2 separate regions of the Homo sapiens genome follow, and region 2 is linked to region 1. Evidence: promoter capture Hi-C in 16 types of primary human blood cells and fetal thymus (Javierre and others, 2016). All regions are on one chromosome and are shown on one strand. The core of a region is centred on a gene start or on the middle of the fragment in contact, and the rest is flanking DNA. Distances in the headings are between cores, read along the strand shown. Region 1 holds the start of BLK-AS1 (BLK antisense RNA 1). Region 2 has its middle 39 kb from the start of GATA4.

Region 1 (5,336 bases), core at 676-3,175:
GAGACTCATTATGTAGGGGAGGGGTGGGGGAAGGACACAGGTTCCGTGCAGGACAGAAGGACACAGGCCCAGGGTGTGGGGCAAATAGGTGAAATGCCCCCCAGGCAGGGTACATTCCTCCACTGCCTGAGGCCCCATATAGAAGGGACCTGGAACGCAAGGTAGGCACCACACAACCATGGCCTCCGGAACTGCATGTTCCAGCTCTGGCACCTGGAATGGGGTGGCACCTGGGCACTTACCCCGATTTTGGTTAAGGGATCACCTCCGAGCAAGCTCTCTGTCTTCTGATTGGCTTCTTCACTCCCCCGGGCTCAGGTTACTACAAAAACAACATGAAGGTGGCCATTAAGACGCTGAAGGAGGGAACCATGTCTCCAGAAGCCTTTCTGGGTGAGGCCAACGTGATGAAGGCTCTGCAGCACGAGCGGCTGGTCCGACTCTACGCAGTGGTCACCAAGGAGCCCATCTACATTGTCACCGAGTACATGGCCAGAGGTGGTGCCCCCCGCAGAGCCGCATCCTCAGAGCGAGGCGGGAGGGCCGGGCTTAGCAGGAGGAGGAGGGTCCGCTGCGGTGGGTTCACCAGGCCAGGGGGTCCTGCAGATCTAGGGCATGGCACGGTGTGGGGACAGGGAGGGATGGAGGGAGGGGGAGGGACAGAGGGAGGGTGAGAAACAGGAGGGTGAAGTGGTTCTGACAGAGCCATGTTCTCAGCCCAGGAGCAGTTCAGACAGCATTTCTGGAGTGCATCTTCTGTGCCTAGCACTCTTTGATGCCTGCTGGGAGGGACAGAGCATTGCAAAGTCAGACGAACACCAGGCCAGGCATGCAGGGACAGTACTAGATCCAGGTCTCCTGCCTCCTGGTCATGCAACCATTTACAACTGTGTGAATATTTTACAAGGATGGCCAGAGAGGTTGGGCTTGATGGCCTCTGAGGTCCACGGCGTGGCCAAGTTCTCATGCCACTTTCTCACCCTCCTATGACCCTGACCGCACACTGCTCCTATAGGATCCTAACATGCCCATGTTGATATAGCTCCCTAACAACTGTCACCAAGGGGCCCCCGGTCGGAGGCTGTGCTGGGGGTGCCTCTAGCCTGCCCCTAGGGCAAGCATCCATCCCTCCCAGCTTTCTGATTCCAGGGGGAGCTGCATTTGTCCCCTGCACCAAACCTGGGGGACAGTTCTCTCCATTCTGGTGCTTTCTTGCTGATGCCTGGTCCTCAGAGGCAGAGGGTGTCTGCCAGCAGGGATCAAGGGAGCGAGGCCAACACGGGGGGAAAGACAAGAAGGGGCATGAAACTTCGAGTCAGAACTGGGGTCCCACTCCCAGCTCCCGGCTGGGTGACTTCAGACAGGTCCCTGCACCTGGCTGAAACCTAACTTCTGGGCAACTGCTGGTATATTGGCTGCCTCCCGGGGTGCTGAGACTGGCATTTTGTAAAGTGGAAGGCACTCGGCAGCAGTAGGTAGATCCTTCCTGATGCACCGAGAGATCTGAGGGTGCAAACTCCCACTTCCCGCGCCCATGGGGAGCCACTCACACCAGAGAGAGGCTGGCACCACCAGGGGCGGGTCACTTTGCAGAAGGGCACTTGCAACTTCTCTTTTCTTAGGATGCCTGCTGGATTTCCTGAAGACAGATGAAGGGAGCAGATTGTCACTCCCAAGGCTGATTGACATGTCGGCGCAGGTTGGTGAAGTACCAGGTGCAGAGAAAGGGCGGCATGTGCCACCTGCTGCCCACAATGGCTGCTCGTGCCTTACCACCCCATCCTCTCAGCCAGCAGGAGAAGTCAGGGGGTACTGAAGGCCACCTTCCTCTAGGCAGATATCCCCAAGGTCACCCACTGCACTTGGACTTGCAAACCCTGGCCACTGTGCCTCCTGCCCCACGCAGCTGTGAGGGAGCCCAGGGAATGGAGCCTTAGACCCGGGCTGCTGTGTTGGAATGAGGCTATTCTGTTCCGAAGGAAGAGAGGGCGAATGAATGTCATGGGAAACACACAGAGTTAGCAAGAGTTCCATTGAACCCGGCAGGCAAGTGTGTTCTGTTGTGACCTCATCTCTTCCTTAGATGGTGCCCACAAACATCTCCTGTAGGACTTCCCATCCCAGGGGCCCTCAGCCTTTGCACAGCCCTGGCGTCGACCCCAGGCTGATGGGCAGGCCTGAGCTACACACAGATGCCAGGGACATGACTTCTCTGAGCCCTGGAGGACAGCCCCACCTTCTGCCACCAGGGAATTGCGAGTGCTGGACCTCCTTGGCTACCCAGGACTGGTCCTCAGTGTCCCTCACGTTCACATGCAGAACTTTCTGGACTCCATGGGGTGAAGAGCAGAGTGGAGAGGAGGGTTTTAGCCGAGAGCTCTAGCTGGCAGGAAGCACATCTGGTGGCCCTGTTAAAACTGGAACTCTCAGCAGAAAAGTTTTGGTCTGTGGTCAGCCTGTGAGGCACACACGTGCGTACACATACACACACACATACAGCTGCCACCGAGAGGAAACGCTCCCACCCACCGCCCACATCAGCCCTCCCACCTCGCCCCTCGCCCAGCCTTACCCAGTAGCGCCGCTGCAGGAACTGATGCCACAACGCCTTTTTCCGCTGAGGTGGGCAGACAGCCATCTGGGCAGGCTGGTTTTGGAAAATGAGTGCTGGTAACCGGCTTCAAACCCCAGGGCAGTGATAAGCCTGCCCACTGCTGCTGCTTCCTTTCCCCTTCCTTCTCTCACCCTCCGCTGTCTCCTATTCAATCCCCACTACACCCCCTTGGGAAATCTCGTGTGACCCAGGGGCAAAGGATGTGAAAAGCCATCGGAGTTTAATACCTGGATGTAGCCACAGAATCGGGGGTGAGGAGCCAGAAAATCAGAACTTCCCAGAAGGGCAGCCTCTAACCACATGCTGACCATGCCAATGGCTCTCTAAGCACACATGTACACACACACACTCTCACACACATAAAAACACAGACTCACACACACACGGACAAACACAAACACATACACAGACTCACACAGACACGCAAACTCACACACAGACAGACACACACACAGACACACAGACTCACACACACAAACTCACACAGACACACAAATACACAGACTCAGACTCAAACACAAACTCACACAAACACATTTACACAAACTCACAAACTCACACACACAAACACACACACAAACACGCAAACTTACACACACATGAGCAGACACACACCCGGCCCTTCTGGGCTCTTCTTTTCTTACTCCATAGGAAGCCATGCAAAGTCTCGCCAGACCTTTCTTCCAAGGCCAGATCTGGCCAACCCCACAGGAACCCTGCAATCACAATCCCTCGGGCCCCACTTTGCAGCCAGATGCCACCGGTTCCCATGCCCCATGCCTCGCCACCCCTCTACCTCCTCTGCCCAGGAAGCCTTGAACACTTCCCACCTGGCAGAATCCTTATCATCATCCATGGCTCAAGCGTAATGTCATTTCTATGAAGGTTTCCCTGGACAAGAAACTGCCAGAGAGCCCTTAGCTCAGGTGTTCCCGGAAGCACTGTTCTTGCTCAGCAGATCTGGGCAGCTTCTTCTTGAAAGCAGATCTGGGCCCTACTCAACATTTTTTAAAATATATTTCTGGTACTGTTCAATAAATATTAGTTATCAGAACGAGTACTGTTAGATGCTGCCCAGATATATTTAGTACTCAGTTTTATATTCCCCACAGTCCCATATTAGTAAATGAGTATTGATTGCATGGTGTAGCAAGGGGATGGATGGATGCATGGATGGGTGGATGCGTGGGTGGGTGGGTGGGTGGGTGGGTGGGTGGATGGATGGATGCATGGATGGATGGATGGATGGATGGATGGATGGATGCATGCATGGATGGATGAATGGGTGGATGGATGGATGGGTGGGTGGGTGGGTGGATGGATGGATGGATCCATGGATGGATGGATACATGGAAGGATGCATAGATGGATGGATGGATGGATACATGGATGGATGCATGGATGTGTTGATGGATGGATGGGTGGGTGGATGGATGGATGCATGGATGGATGGATGCATGGATAGATGGATGGATTCATAGATAAACCAACAAAATGCAAGCATAAGGAGAAGTGGAATCAATTCTAGTGCTGGCTTCTTGAAGTCGCATGTCTGAAGAGGTAAATGGGGTCTCTGCTTTCTGCCTCAGTTTCTTCGTCCATTGATTGGGTGAATAAAGCCTTAGTTTCCTCAGCTAAAAGGTGCCAAGTAGCACCAGCTGCTATCCCTGGCCCAGGCTGGTGATCAGGGGAGGAGAGACAAGTCTCTTCTTCTTCACAGCCTCTGTCCACCTGGATCTGCCAGTGCTCCCTGGGTGCCCCCACGGGGCAGGCGCTGGGTGAGGTTCTTGGTCACAAATCAACCTCGTCTAATGCTTGCCTCAACCCCCTGCCCTGGAGACCACATCCCTCATGTTCCATGTCAGGACTGTGGCCCCTCGGGGAGGTTAAGCAGCTTGCTAGAGGTCAGCGACTTCCCGAGGGCCTCCAGCTCCAGGAGCTGTGCTTCCAGCCAGCCAGTGAGAGCTGCCTGTCCTTGCCTCCTGCTCCCCCTCCCCCTCCTTCCTTACCATTTCTTCTCTTCTCCCTCCCTCTCCTTTTCTCCTGCCTGTGTTCTTCTATCTTCCATCTCTGCAGACCCTTGGACACAGCTGTGTGGAGCGAGAACGAGGAGGGGGAGGGGCACAGGTAGCCCCTGTGTCTCTGATGCCCACGTTGCTGCGTTGCTGTTCTGGGCTTCTAGGAGAGGAGTTTATTCGGCTGAGGAGCAACACAGTCACCTTTCTACTCCATCCAAGAAACAGCTCCTTCCCCAGCAGCCCACAGGGGCTGTGCGGGGGACACAGTGTGGGCTCGGTCTTGGCGTGGAGGCCCCCAGGCTGTCCTTCACCATGTGCCTGTTCCCTCAGATTGCTGAAGGGATGGCATACATTGAGCGCATGAATTCCATCCACCGCGACCTGCGGGCGGCCAACATCCTGGTGTCTGAGGCCTTGTGCTGCAAAATTGCTGATTTTGGCTTGGCTCGAATCATCGACAGTGAATACACGGCCCAAGAGGGTAAGCACAGCCCCTAACCACAAGGGAAACCTAGGGCCTTATCTTTCCCAGCTCCTCAAAGCCGCCTTTAACTTCTCCCAGCACAGCCCTGAGGGAAGACACCTGAGGGCTATACGGTTTCTACAGCTCTAGATCAGCATTTCCTTCATTTACCCAAATGTGTTCAGCAGAATGGTAGTGCCCTGAGACCTCCCATGGAGGAACAGCTTTAGGATAAGGTAGG
Region 2 (6,127 bases), core at 3,363-5,862, 110 kb after region 1:
CAGTTTCTCCATCTATGAAAGGGAAAATTCTGTCCACTGCCAGGTATTTATCATGAGGATAAATGAACTGCATTGCGCCAAGTGATCTTGGAACAGGAAGGCTGGTGGATTAAATAAAGATTTACAAAGAATTATGTCCAAATGATCCTTATTTATGATGTGCTTGGTGAGGGTAACAGATGAGAACTCGAAGAGACCCTGGGAGAACCTGCTTCCAGTGCCTCTTTTTCCAGATGGAAAAAAAAAAAAAAAAAACAAACACCAAAATTGAGGCCCAGAGAAAAGAAGGAACTTGCCCAAGATAAACTAACCCCTTCCCCACCTCCACCTTCCTTAGCTGGGTAAGGCAGGGCTCAGGAAAGACAAGTTTTGCTACAAGCTGTCCTCAAAGCTACCCTTCTAGCCCTGAAACGGGTGTGCTCAGAAAGAATTTTTAGCAATGCAAAGAAAAATTGTAGTAAAATGTTAAGGAACATAGCAGAATAAAAAAAAAATTGCTCACATCCTATGAACTGCAATAATTGTGTGTGTGGGGGGAAACAGTATTTCAAAACATGAAAATAGTTGTGTTTGGAAGTGGGTTTTATTTTCAAATTTTGTTTCTATTGTTATTGCTTTGTTACTGGTCTGTTACAAATTATTAACATTACATTCTGTTTGTAAAGCTTTTGTTTTCAAGCAATGCAGCAGTGAATAAAATGTTTTAAAAGAAAGAAAGAAAGAAAGAAAAGCACTGCCTTACTCCCACTACCCAACCCCCTAATCTCATTCTCCCAGAGTAACTATTTTTACATTTGCAGGGTCTTTCCAGACCTTTCTTGGATACAAATTTGAACCTAAATGTTTGAATTTCTGTGTTTTGTATGTAAAGGGGATGGTGGTGGTGGTGGTGGTAGTTCCCTGGTACTATTATTCAACAAACAAGAACAAACCGTTCTGTGACCCAAGCCATTCAAGGGAGGCGAATGCACTGTTAGCGCCACCAGGAAAACGTGGCTTGTGAGCTGGGTGAGAACAGAGTTCATTCACCTCCCTCAGGAGAGACTTTACTCCCAGAAAGACTGATTCAGGCCAGCTCCGGGTGGCCTGGCTCCTTCCCCCCCAGCCCACAAGGCCCCCAGGTTTATTGGCCTCATGGACTCAACTAGTACCATTGTAGTCAGAGGTCAGTTTAATGGGAGGTGGCTCTGAGACAGCAGCGAATTGGTGTATTTGAGTGACTTGACAAAAACGAATAATAAGACAAGAATTCTGGAGAGAGTAGGTAGAGCTGACATTATGTCCAATATATTGTAATGTGTGTGGATAATATTCCTGGGAAATTCACCACCCTTCAGACACCATCTTTGTAAAGCATTCACTTATCTTCAACCCTGGGTTGTCCTAGTGTGCTAATCCAAGCTTTGGAACAGGACGCTATCATAATGCCAGTAGCCCTGTGTAGGATCCCACCATTGACACAGCATCCCCATCAACACTTATCCCATCCCTTGATCCCAAAACACTTGGAGCAGGCTCTCCATATTGAGGGTTTCTAGCTTTAGCAGATAAAAATGCAGGATACCCAGTCACAAGTGAATTTCAGATAAACACCCAATTATGTTTCTTAACTAGTTAGTGTTGGTATGAAAGTTAATTTCTTCAGAAACTTCTTTTATAACCAGCTACCGTATAAAACTATCTTATGAGCTGGGGTACCAGCCAGGGACCAGTGAGGAGACAGAAACTATATCAGTATTTTTAACAGATAATATAATAAAAGGAATTGTTAACTAGGCATGGAAAAACCACTAAAGCAGAAAGATAATCCTAACGTATGATGAAGGTAGAGACTGCAGAGGCAGATATTACTTGTAAAGTTGGGCAATCAGAAGAAAAAGGTTGAAATTATTAACATTTAGACACTTGGAGGAGAGGCCCATGGGGCTGGAAACATATGTCTGAGGAGGGGGTGAGTGACAGACAGTACTGGCATCTCTGACAGCATCTTGAAGAGTTTGTTTCTGCAAGAATAAGAAAAACTGGGCTGGGCGTGGTGGCTCATACCTGTAATTCTAGCACTTTGGGAGGTGGAGATGGAGGGAACACTTGAGCTCAGGAGCTCCAGACCAGCCTGGCCAACATGGTGAAACCCCATCTTTACCAAAAATGCAAAAATTAGCTGGGCGTGGTGGCACATGCCTGTAATCTCAGCTACTCAGGAGGCTGAGGCAGGAAAATCAGTTGAAGCTAGGAGGCGGAGGTTACAGTGAGCAAGTATCGTACCACTGCACTCTAGCCTGGGCTACAGAGTGAGATTCCATCTCAAAAAAAAAAAAAAAAGACAAAACTGAAAACTGGATTCAGCTGCTGCTACAAGAATGAACTGTTGCTGCCATGATAGAGAGGCTAGAGAAAAGCATTTATGACTAGGAAGCAAACGAAAGGTGTATTTCCTTCACCTCCACAAGCCTTGTAGTCTCCCTTCATTGTTGTCTGTGGGCAGAACCTGATACAGAGCCAGCCAGAAAGACAGAATGGTGGCTTATAGAATCTCAACCCCACAAGCACAAGACAGAAAACAGAAAGGCAGAAAGGTGGGTTTGAGGCAGGGACTACAGCTTAGACTTCTGCAGTGTGTAGGTAAAAATGATTTTGCTTCTTCCCTTCCAATTCTTCTGTCTCTTATTTTTCTTATATTATTGCATTGGCTAGCATTTCCGGAATACTGATGTTGGGCATCTTGCTTTTGTTCCTAACAAGCATGAGAACATCTCTTCTGGTTTTTCACAATTAAATAATGCTAGTGGTTGGCTTGAGTCAGATTTCAAACTTTTTTTATTTCAATAGCTTTTTGAGTACAAGTGGTTTTTTGGTTACATGGATGAATTGTACAGTGGCAAAGTCAGATCTTTATGCACCTGTCACCCAAGTAGTATACATTGTACCCAATAAGTAATTTTTTATCCCTCACCTCCCTCCCTACCTCCCTCTTTCTTCTGAGTCTCTAAAGTCCATTATACCACTCTGTCTGCCCTTGCATACCCGTAGCTTAGCTCTCACTTATAAGTGAGAACATACCGTGTTTGGTTTTCCATCCTTGAGTTATTTCACTTAGAATAATGGCCTCCAGCTCCAGTCAAGTTGCTGCAAAAGATATCATTTCCTTTTTTATGGGTGAGTAGTATTCCATGACATATATATTTGCTTTCGCTACTCATTAGTCAGTGGGCACTTAGATTGGTTCTACATCTTTGCAATTGAGAATTGCATTGTAATAAACATATGCATGTGGGTGTCTTTTTGATATTACTTCTTTTCCTTTGGGTAGTTACCTGGTAGTGAGATTACTGGATCAAATGATAGATCTACTTTTACTTCTTTGAGAAATCTCCACACTGTTTTCCATAGAGGTTGTACTCATTTACATTTTCACCAGCAGTGTATAATGGTCCCTTTTCACCACATGCAGCCAGCACCTATTGTTTTTTAATTTGTTAAATAGTGGCCATTCTTGCAGGGGTAAGGTTGTATCTCATTGTGGTTTTAATTTGCATTTCCCTGATAATTAGTGATGTTGAGCATTTTTTCATATGTTGGTTGGCCATTTGTATACCTTCTTTTGAGAATGTCTACTCATGTCATTTGCCCACTTTTTGATGGGATTATTTGTTTCTTTCTTGCTGATTTGTTTGAATTCCTTGTAGAGTCTGGAAATTAGTCCTTTGTCAAATGAATAGTTTGCAAATATTTTCTCCCACTCTGTGAGTTGTCTGTTTACTCTGATGATTATTTCTTTTGCTGTACAGAAGCTTTTAGTTTAATAAGGTCCCATTTCTTTATTGTGTTTGAGTCAGATATTTTTATTATATTATGGGAATATCCTTCTGTTCTAATTTTTTAGTGAGAGTTTTATTTGTTTTAATCAAGAAAGGATGCTACATTTGGTTAAATGCCTTTTCACTCCTATTGGTATAGTTGTATAGTTTTTCTTCCTTTGACTGAATACTGTAATAAATTTTATTGTTTCCTAATATTTTGTTTTATTTTTTTAGAGATGAGAGTCTTACTCTATCACCCAGGCTAGAGTGCACTGGTACAATCATAGCTCACTGCAGCCTTGAACTCCTGGGCTCAAGAAGTCCTCCTGCCTCAGCCTCCCAAGTAGCTGGGATTACAGGCATAAGCCACAGTGCCTGTCTGTTTCCTAATATTAATGACCTGGCTCCCTAAGGGAAAACCCTATTGAACATTGATATTTTCTTTTAATATACTGCTGGATTCAGCTTGCTAATATTTTATTCATTTAGAATAGTTACATCAATATTAAGAATAATAATTTCATTAAAATGACTCCAAATTTATACCAGTTTTATCCTTCATTTATCCTAAAAATATCAGGCTGGGTGGAGCAGCTCGTGCCTATAATCCCATCATTTTGGGAGGCCAAGGCAGGAGGATAACCTGAAACCAGAAGTTTGAGACCAACCTGGGCAAAACAGTGTGACTCTGTCTCTACAAAAATTTTAAAGAATTAGCCAGGCATGGTGGCACACATCTGTAGTCCCAGCTACTCAGGAAGGGAGGTTGAGGTGCGAGGATCACTTGAGCCAGGGAAGTTGAGGCTGCAGTAAGCTGTGATCACACACCACTGCACTCCAGCCTGGGTGACAGAGTGAGACCCTGTCTCAATTAAAAAAAAAAAAAAAAAAAAAAAAAAAGAGGAAAAGTTTCAAATCAGCTATCTAAGCTCTCGCCTCAAGAAACTGGAAAAATAAGAGCAAAATAAGTCCAAAGCAAATAAAAGGAAGGAAGTAATAAAGACAGGAGCGGATATCAATGAAATAGAAAATAGAAAAATAACAGAAAAAAAACAATAAAACAAAAAGCTGAAAAGACTGGGCGTGGTAGCTCATGCCTATAATTCCAGCACTTTGGGAGGCCGAGGCAGGTGGATCTGAGGTCAGGAGTTCGAGACCAGCCTGACCAACATGGTGAATGAAATCTCATCTCTACTAAAAATACCAATTCTTCAAAAAGTATAAAGTACAACCACTTACTTAATATGAAATCAGCCATTTGAATAGCCCTATAACTCTTTTTAAAATTGAAACAGTAATTAAAACTCAGAAAACACACCAATTCAACACATTTTTTCCAAGAAAAAAAAAACATTTTCCAATGCATTTTGTAAGGCCAGTATTACAGTAACACTAAAACCAGACTAACATACAAAGAAAACACTACAGCCCAATATCCCTCATTGACATAGATGCAAATCCTTAACAAAATATCAGCAAATAGAATGCAGCAACATGCAAGAATTACACATCATGACTAGTGAGATTTATTTCAGAGATGCATAACTGACTCACTAATTTAAAATCAATGCAATCCACCAGTTTAACATGCTAAGGAAAACAAATCATATGATCATACCAATTGGTACAGAAAAAAGCTTTCGATGAAATTTGATACCCATTCATGATAAAAACTCTGAAAATTAGGAATAAAGGGAACTTCCTCAACTTGATAAAGAGCACTTACAAAAGACCAACAGCTAACATAATTAATGGTAAAAGACTAAAGCCTTTCCACAAAGGCTGAGAATAAGACAAGAATTTCCACTCTCACTACTTCTATTCAGCATAGTAATGGAAGTTTTAGCCAGAAAATAAGGCAAGTAAAGAAAATAATAATAAAAGGGCTGGGTGCAGTAGTATGTACCAGTAGTAGTCCAATCTACTAGGGAGGCTGAGGCAACAGGATCACTTGAGCCCAGGAGCTCAGGCTGTAGTACACCATAACTGCACCTGTGAATAGCCACTGACCTCCAGCCTGGGCAACACAGCAAGACCCTGTCTTTTTAAAAGATAGTAACAAAAATAAAAATACAATGAATACAGGTCAGAAGGGAAGAAATTAAAGTATGTCTGTTCGGAGATAAAGTGATCATCTACATAGAAAACCTCCAAGAAATATACCAGAAAAGAAAAAAAAAACCTCCTGGAACTAACAAATGAGTTCAGCAAGGCTGCAGAAAACAAAATCAACATACAAAAACAAACTATAATTCTATATACTAGCAATGAACATGTGGAAAATGAAATTAACCATATAATATTAGTTGCAATTGCTCAAATAATTA

Evidence for each region. The method cuts DNA at HindIII sites, captures the fragments that hold promoters and counts their contacts. A CHiCAGO score of 5 or more calls a contact.
Region 2: a fragment that was not itself captured here is called in contact with the fragment with the promoter of BLK-AS1 in region 1 in 2 of 17 cell types (naive B cells and total B cells); the score reaches 6.9 in naive B cells.

What each region holds. Positions count from the first base shown.
Region 1 is chr8:11,556,340-11,561,675 of GRCh38, forward strand. BLK-AS1 (BLK antisense RNA 1) reads right to left here and starts at 1,926. Exons shown (of 5, transcript XR_948956.3): 1 at 1,551-1,926; 2 at 1-322. BLK (BLK proto-oncogene, Src family tyrosine kinase) reads left to right here. Exons shown (of 13, transcript NM_001715.3): 9 at 319-498; 10 at 1,623-1,699; 11 at 4,963-5,113. RefSeq lists an enhancer at 2,096-2,385. The HindIII fragment of the contact is 8,296 bases long and covers 1-5,336 here.
Region 2 is chr8:11,661,818-11,667,944 of GRCh38, forward strand. No RefSeq gene overlaps it. Among named protein-coding and RNA genes, the nearest start is that of GATA4, 39 kb to the right of the region's middle. The HindIII fragment of the contact is 1,646 bases long and covers 3,790-5,435 here.